Regions from separate parts of the Homo sapiens genome. Here region 2 is linked to region 1. The links are contacts of gene promoters, found by promoter capture Hi-C in blood cells and fetal thymus (Javierre and others, 2016). All regions are on one chromosome and are shown on one strand. The core of a region is centred on a gene start or on the middle of the fragment in contact, and the rest is flanking DNA. Distances in the headings are between cores, read along the strand shown.

What was found. Contacts are between HindIII fragments. The CHiCAGO score rates a contact against its expected background, and 5 or more counts as called.
Region 2: a contact is called between a fragment that was not itself captured here and the fragment with the promoter of IL4 in region 1, in 1 of 17 cell types (endothelial precursors). The highest score is 5.9, in endothelial precursors.

The regions. Positions count from the first base shown.
Region 1 is chr5:132,671,623-132,675,837 of GRCh38, reverse strand. IL4 (interleukin 4) reads right to left here and starts at 1,849. Exons shown (of 4, transcript NM_000589.4): 1 at 1,653-1,849; 2 at 1,332-1,379. The coding sequence starts at 1,787. The HindIII fragment of the contact is 7,466 bases long and covers 1,126-4,215 here.
Region 2 is chr5:132,385,644-132,389,935 of GRCh38, reverse strand. SLC22A5 (solute carrier family 22 member 5) reads right to left here. Exons shown (of 10, transcript NM_003060.4): 5 at 2,785-2,911; 6 at 915-1,015. Among named protein-coding and RNA genes, the nearest start is that of MIR3936HG, 18 kb to the right of the region's middle. RefSeq lists enhancers at 3,096-3,305, 3,446-3,495, 3,989-4,292. The HindIII fragment of the contact is 2,434 bases long and covers 879-3,312 here.

The DNA.
Region 1 (4,215 bases), core at 600-3,099:
CAGGTGCAGTGGCTAATCCCAGCACTTTGAGAGGCCGAGGTGGACGGATTGCTTGAGCCCAGAAGTTCGAGACAAGCCTGGGCAAAATGGCAAGACTCCATCTCTACAAAAAAATACAAAAATTAGCCAGGCGTGGTGGTGCACACCTGTCGTCCCGGCTACTTGGGAGGCTGAGGTAGGAAGATAGCTTGAGCCTGGGAGGTGGAGGCTGCTATGAGCTGAAATCGCACCACTGCACTCCAGCCTGGGTGACAGAACAAGACCCTATCTCAAAAAAAAAAAAAAGTGTGTATTTGCCCTTCAGAATCTCATCCTGTATCGGACTCCCGGGATAACTAATGAAATGAGATAGTCCAGCTAAAGGCCCGAAGAGCAGTTTCCCTCATGAAGCAGGATGGGCCCTGTTCTATGGTCTGGGTGCTGGAGTGTGACCCTGCCCAACACACAGGGCTTCACTCCTGGCCATATCATCTCCCTAGTTTGCATGGAAAGCAGGTAGTTAGGAGACCACTGTGAAATTGAGGCTTTGGGGCTTTCATTCTCAGCCGTGTGTTTCCATGAAAACAGGAACTGAAATGCACAAAACTATTGATACGGCTGTAGTCATGTGTTTGTCAGAGAAAATGCACTATCAGCTGTCAAATCTATCTCCTCCCACTACAGATAGAGGGGTGGGGGTGAGGCAGCACAGGAGGCAGAGAGGCGAGGTGCCCAGGCAGCCCGAAGCAGGGATGTGCTGGACGCTGCCCAGCAGGATGGTTCCAGACCGAGCTGGAGGGGAGTTCGGCCGGCCAGAGCAAGCTGAGGAGCTCTGGACGGCCAGCCCCGGAACCCAGAGGGCTGTTAGGTGGCCAGGCTGTGGAAGAGGAGGGGCTCTGGCGATACCTTTTCTGTTGCCATAGGAAGTCTCTTAGACAAAATGAAAGCTCCCTCAACCTGTCATCTCAATATCTGTTTCTGTGAGAGTATTTGGTTTTTCAGAAATGTATGGGCCAGAAAAATTCTCTCATTCAACAGGCATTTATTGAGTGCCTCCTACGTTCCAGGCACTATGCCAAAGCTAAGTAAAACCCAAGAGGGCTTTTCTTTGACCAGGATCTGAGTCAGGACTACAGCATGTAAGCTTTCTATTACATGTCTTCTAAATCAAGTGAAACCAGAAAGACCAAAACATGCTTAAGAGTAAAGATCAGACTTCTCGTTCTTTGAAAACATCTAACACCTTAGAGTTAATTTGGGCCCGCTCGTTTTCCATTAGACAAGTTTCTTGTTCAGACATTTGGGGATGGATCTCCCCATTTGCTAAAACAGACCGTGGGACGGCTTCTTACCTTGGAGGCAGCAAAGATGTCTGTTACGGTCAACTCGGTGCACAGAGTCTTGGTCCAGGCAGAAATGAGAGAGCAAGAGACAGAGTTAACCTCCAACCGGACAGAGAAGTCCTTGATGAGCAGCTCTCACTCCCTCCAACTGAGGAAACTTCCTACAAACCCTCAGAAAAAAGAGTGGCAGGGGAGAAGCCTCGCTGTGTGCCCTGGACTGCCACCAACCACCAGTTCCAACTTCTCTAGCAGCTGTTAACGTTTTCATGCCTAGAAATACTGAGAGCATCACCAGAACATCTGGAGAGATGGTGCCAGATAGGTACTCACCTTCTGCTCTGTGAGGCTGTTCAAAGTTTTGATGATCTCCTGTAAGGTGATATCGCACTTGTGTCCGTGGACAAAGTTGCCGGCACATGCTAGCAGGAAGAACAGAGGGGGAAGCAGTTGGGAGGTGAGACCCATTAATAGGTGTCGATTTGCAGTGACAATGTGAGGCAATTAGTTTATCAGGAGAAGCTAACGATGCAATGCTGACAAAGATATCTCTATATATAGATTTAAAATTGCTGAAACCGAGGGAAAATGAGTTTACATTGGAAATTTTCGTTACACCAGATTGTCAGTCACTTGGGGCCAATCAGCACCTCTCTTCCAGGAGAAAAAATGCCTCACAAACAGGTAAAATGTTCCTGTGAAATCAGACCAATAGGAAAATGAAACCTTTTTAAAAAATTAACTACAAAGTTTCAGCATAGGAAATTACACCATAATTTGCTCTTTAGATTAATCTTATCAGCTTGGGGCTGCTGCTGGCTTTTTGCTTTGCATAGAAGGGAGAGGCCACAGGTGTCCGAATTTGTTGTAATGCAGTCCTCCTGGGGAAAGATAGAGTAATATCAAGAAAGTTTTACTTGAAAAGTATTTTAACCTGGCTTCTTCCAAGTACAGGTGGCATCTTGGAAACTGTCCTGTCATGGAAAAGCTGATCTGGGGCTCCTTCTCTGCATAGAGGCAGAATAACAGGCAGACTCTCCTACCCCAGCACTGGGGGACAATGTTCTCCCAAGTTTAGGTGTTTTGAGAAGGACAGGTCGTATCAGGTGAGGCCTAGTTTGGGTCCCAGCAGGTCCATAAGGTCCTTACCCATAAGGAAGCCCTTGGCAAGGTAGGTCTATTCTGAGGTTTCAGGAATGACTTTTTTTTTTTTTTTTCTGAGACAGGGTCTCACTCTGTCACCCAGGCTGAAATGCAATGTTGTGATCAGGGATCACTGCAGCCTCAACCTCCCAGGCTCAAGTGATCCTCCCACCTCAGCCCCCCTAGCAGTAGGTGCGTGCCACCGCACCATGCCTGGCTCATTTTTATTTTTATTTTTTGATAGAGATAAGAGTCTCACTATGTTGCCTAGGCTCATCTCAAATTCCTGGGCTCAAGTGATCCTCCTACCTCAGTCTCCCAAAGCTCTGAGATTACAGGTGTGAGCCACCATGCCTGGCCAGGAATGCCCACTTTTTGAATGGAACCTAAACACATCCTCAGCTAATTAGGAAAAAGAGCTACAGTCTTACCAACTTACAAATCAGCCCTCCTAGTCAGTGCCCCACCACCCGCCCTGCTTGTTTTTTATTGAATTCATGTGGACACAATAAGGTGCTCATTGCCTCACCCCAGCAGTGAACGTAAGGACCCCACCACTCACTCAGGTGCCTGGGCCCTGTGCAAGGCCACCCCACCTCCCAGTAAGGGCTCATGGGCAGCAGGATTCTTGGGCCCTGCCTGCCCCCTGCTTTTCTCCCAGAACCTTCCCTTCCCTTGGTCTCTGACCTTCTTTTCCCTATGAATTTCTTTTTTTTTTTTTTTTTTTTGAGATGGAATCTTGCTCTGTCACCCAGGCTGGAGTGCAGTGGCGTGATCTTAGTTCACTGCAAGCTCCGCCTCCTGGGTTCATGCCGTTCTCCTGCCTCAGCCTCCCCGAGTAGCTGGGACTACAGGCACCTGCCACCACGCCCGGCTAATTTTTTGTATTTTTAGTAGAGACGGGGTTTCACCGTGTTAGCCAGGATGGTCTCCATCTCCTGACCTCGTGATCCGCCTGCCTCGGCCTCCCAAAGTGCTGGGATTACAGGCGTGAGCCACTGTGCCTGGGCCTCCCTATGAATTTATTCTGGAAGATCATCTAAAAATGTGTGTTGCTAAGGTTTTGCCTCTGTTCCACTTCCCCGCCCCCCCCTCACCACCCCCTGCCCCCATACTCTGTCACCCAGGCTGGAGTGCAGTGGTGATCATAGCTTACTGTAGCCTTGATCTCCTGGGCTCAAGGCATTCTCCAGCCTCAGCTTCCCGAGTAGCTGGGATTACAGGCACATGCCACCACGCCTGGCTAATTTCTGTATTTTTTTTTTTTTTTTAGTAGAGATGGGGTTTCACCATGTTGGCTAGGCTGGTGTCGAACTCCTGGCCTCAAAATGATCCACCCACCTCAGCCTCCCAAAGTGCTGGGATTATAGGCGTGAACCACCATGCCCGGCCAAGGTTTTGCCTCTGTTTTGGATCTTTTCTTCCCTTATTATTATTATTATTAAATTGACAAATAAGTATTGCACATATTTGTGCTGTATGATATAATGTTTTGAAATGTGCATGTTATGGAATTGCTACATCAAGCTACTTATACAATACTTCACATATTTATTTTTGGTAAGAACATTTAAAATCTACTCTGTGATTTATTTATTTATTTTGAGATAGAGTCTTGCTCTGTTGCCCAGACTGGAGTGCAATGGCGCAGTCTCAGCTCACTGCAACCTCTGCCTCCTGAGCTCAAGCAATTCTCCTGCCTCAGCCTCCCGAGTAGCTGGGATTACAGGTGCCTGCCACCACGCCCAGCTAA
Region 2 (4,292 bases), core at 846-3,345, 290 kb after region 1:
CCAGGAAATCCAGAGCAGGGAGGAGAGCCTGGGTGAACACAAAAGTGGGTGACTCATCACAGGCTTGCATGTCTGTGGTGCAGGCTACATGCTGCTCCTGTCTTGAGGCCAACTCAGGGAATGGTGAACTGCCTGGAGGGATCCTGGGCCATTCCTTGGAAGCGGGTGACTCATAGCACTCCCTCAGTAGGCACAGTGGCTGACTGCCTCAAAGCTGGATGAGACTAGTAATAAGGACTCTGAGATGAAGTCCGCCCTCCTCGCCCATCTTCTCACCGCTAACCCACCAGGCTCCAGAAGTCGCCTAGAATCCCAGGGTTCGGCCGCTGAGCAAAAGCTAGCGATGTGCACTTGGACATGTTTCCTCTCCCTGGTAATTCACAAATCCCTTTCTGACATACTTTGCCTCATTAGTGGGAACCTGGTAAGGACATCTAGGCTATAGCCCTGACTCCAGGACCGTTTATGGACATCCCAGGAGGAGCACATCCCACTTCCACATTTCCAGAAAGTAACTGGCAGCCTCTGCAGCCTACAGGACATGGTGTCTTCACTCAGATCCTTCTTAAAAGCCCTACCTGGCCTCCTCAGCCACTGTCGGTAACTGGGTAGGAGACGGGAACTAAATGACCCAAATTGGGCAAGGATTCATCTTAAGATCTGGAGAGATTCCCCACAAGAGTCCATATTTCCCACAACAGCCTCCACAATTGTTTTCATTCTCCTTTTCTGAGGTTCCATCCCATTAAGAATTGTGACATGCCCATTTTTTCCATCTAACACAAGACATATCCTTTTCACTCTCTGATGACATAGGCTTTGAATTTTGTCTGAGGCATGTCTGTAAACAAGAGGCCCAATGGCCACTTCAAGAAGCTTTGTCTGGAAGCCTCAGGCAGGTCTCTTTTACATACCACAGCATTATGGACATGATGGTGACCATCCGGATATTCCAGGTTCGAAGCAGATCCAGAATGTTGTGGGACTGCTGCTTCTTGGAACTTAGGTCTTGTAACTGCAGGAACAACATCATAAGTGTATGGGAAGAAGAGGTGGTCAGAGACTCAGAGCACACAATAACATACTTGAATCCCTGGCATCTTAGCTGTCTGCATCTCAGCGTCGGGGAGTGTTACGTTTCTAAGAACAGTAAGTATACTGACTGTGTTTTAGGCTGTGAAAACTTCCCTAGGCCTTGTCAGTAACAAATCAGAGTGAATGAAAATGAGGAAAAGTAAGTGACCAGTCCCTCAAGGGTACAGGAAGACAGAGGCCCAGGCTGACAGCTTCCTCACTGCACCCCCACATATTCCTGTCGGTGGCCACATTCCAAGGAGGCCTCTAAGTATTCCTCCCGAAGCCTGGCTCCCTGCCCTCTGGGTCAGAGAGAGTACCTGGCTGTGTGGTTTATTGGTCTGATATTTTTTAAAAGTTAATGTTTTGAGTCCTTATACTATGTAGTTACTGGTGTGCTTCCAGGGAAAAAGAATTCAAATAGAAAAACAGGAAAATTGACCTGAGCTTCACCCAGAGTGACTTCCTATGAAATTCAGCACAGCCAAGGCCATTAATAAACCACACGTCTAAACACACTGATGTTGCTTTCTTAAGCAAACCCAGGTTTGGAGCTTGTTTTTCCAGAGTTAGAAGTTCAACAAAAGGTCAACTTTGGACTGAAAGTATCCCCTGAAATAGCCTCATTTCCTCAAAGATGCCAGTGGGGCTTATGCATTCACCCAGATTGACCCCTCACTTAAAAGCCCCCAAAACCACCTAACTTAAAAGCCCTCTGCCACACTCCTGCCTGACCTTTGCGCACAGGACCCCTTTCTGGTGCATGCTGACAGTGGCTGCTGGGCCACCACTCACTGGGAAGTCTGCAGGGCTGGCAGTGGCCATTGGCCTCCGCTGTCTACAATAACTGTTCCCTCTTTTCCAAGCCCAACCATGCCTGCCTCTCACACTTCAGCAGGGCTGCTTGTGGCTGTTCCCACACCCAACCCCTCATCTTCCAGTCAGACCACAGACACATTCCAGAACCCCACCAGGCAGCATTTACAGCTTCTAACCTCTCATAGTCACGAGACCAAGGAAAACTGCCTGCTACAGAGATGGTAGGAGAGGGAACGGGAAGGAAAAGCAAGAACCAGGAACTAGGTAGAGCCAAGAAATGAGTCATGGTGTGTGAGAACAGGGCTGACGGGAGGGGTGGGGTAGGGGGAAGAGGTGGACATCAAAAAGGACCTGACTCCAAGATGATATGCAATAATTAACCATTGGAGGGCAGAAAGAGACTAAACACTTTTTTTTTCTTTTTAATGAATAATTGCTAATACTCAAGAGATGAAATACTTCTAACTCCAAATCTATTTGTGCTTTACATTTTACGTTTGGGGTTAGCTTTGTAAGGTGACAAGCCACCTTAGGTATAAGAAACAATGATTTTCCCAAATGCTGACTTTATGAAAGGCCTATTACTCAAAAAGAGTATTTATTGTTAGAAGTAATGGTTAAAATATATGATTGCCTAGAAAGGAAGTAAAAAATGAAAATCTGAAACCCGTGGTGAAAAGAGTGAGGCAGCTGTAACCTATTCCTCAACTTCTGAGTGTTAACAGGGCCCGTGTGGGGGTGGGGAGTGGGGGGATGGGGGGAATGGGCAGTTGGGGCTTGGGCGGAGAGAGGGCTGGGCTGCTGTGAGCAGGGAGGACTTCAGGGCTGGGTGCTGCTGCTCTCAAATCACGGTCAGTCTGTCCCTCTCACCCACACCCACATGGTGCTTACCTCACTCGGGTCAAAGATAGTGGAAGGCACAACAATCCCATTGGCTTTGGCAGCCTTGCGGATGATCACCTCTGCCTCTTCAAATCGTCCCTGAGAGATGAGCCATCGGGGGGACTCAGGGATGAACCTGGCAGTACAAGGTCCAATCTCAGTGAGGCCTCCCTGCCAACAGCAGACCCACAGACCAGGTAGAGCACAGCCATAGGTGGGAATAAGGTTGCAGAACCAGAGCTTGTGGAATGTTTGGTGATCACAAGCCAGAAGCAAAGAGCTGATCCACACGCAGCAATAACCTGGGGTGGATGAGCTTATGTGTACCCCACACCGCACAAAAATGGGAGAGCCCTGCACCCCCTGACGGCATCCCCATGCTGGCTGGCCACCTCCATTTCTGAAGAGCAGTGTTGCCATCTGCTGGGCTGAGGAGATGGGTGCAAGATGGGCTCCGGAAGCCTGGCTTCTGTGCATGTCTATGTCAGCCCAGGCCCTGCTACACTCTCCTCCCTGTCCCCGGCACCAACAGAAGCTTCTGCACTGGCCTTTTAGCTTCTCTTCTCTCCTCACCCTACCCCTGATTTATCCAACAGATTAGTCAGATACTCTACCTAAAATAGCATGTTTGGCCAGGTGCAGTGGTTCACTCCTATAATCCCAGCACTTTAGGAGGCCAAGGCCGGTGGATCATTTGAGGCTAGGAGTTCCAGACCAGCCTGGCCAACGCAGTGAAACCCGTCTCTCCAAAGAAATACAAAAAAAATTAGCCAAGTGTGGTGGCAGGCACCTGTAGTCCCAGCTACTCGGGAGGCTGAGACATGAGAATCGCTTGAACTGGGGAGGCGGAGGTTGCAGTAAGTGGAAATCACGCCACTGCACTACAGCCTGGGCAACAGAGACTTTGTCTGAGAAAAAAAAAAGAAAAAAAAAGAAAAGAAAAAGAAAAGAAAAAAAGGAAAAAAATTAGCATGTTTATCAAGGCACTTGAGTGCTCTATGGATATTATTTTCCACCTTGCTGGGACCAGGTAGCCGCCCCCCACCCTCGGTCATGACTGGGCCCCATGATGTGCGGCTTACTCTCCCACTATGCCCTGAAATGCTCTCTGCTCCACTTGGGCTGGTGATCTCACCTTCTCCACCTGCAAGGGGTGATTCCCACCTTAGCACCTCTGCAGTGTTCCCCTCTTGGTCTGGAATGGCCTCTTCTCTGCCTGTTCAACTCCTCTACCTTGGTGGTGCAGAAGGAGCCTGGCTTCCTCCATGTGGCTACCCTGAGGACTCTTGCTTTTGGTGCCAGTGCCTGTGGCATGAGGCTTCAGCAGCACACAGCCAGAACTAGGGCCTACACTGTCCTGCCCTGAGGCTTGGGAACTTCCTACAGGGCATGCTGGACCCCATCTTCTCACAGCTACTGCTATTTTTCCCCACACTTGGGGCAACCCAGCACAGGGCTGAGAGCAAGTCTGTTGCTGTCATGGGATTCTGTTTTGTTTTGGCTCTTTTGAGTGTGGA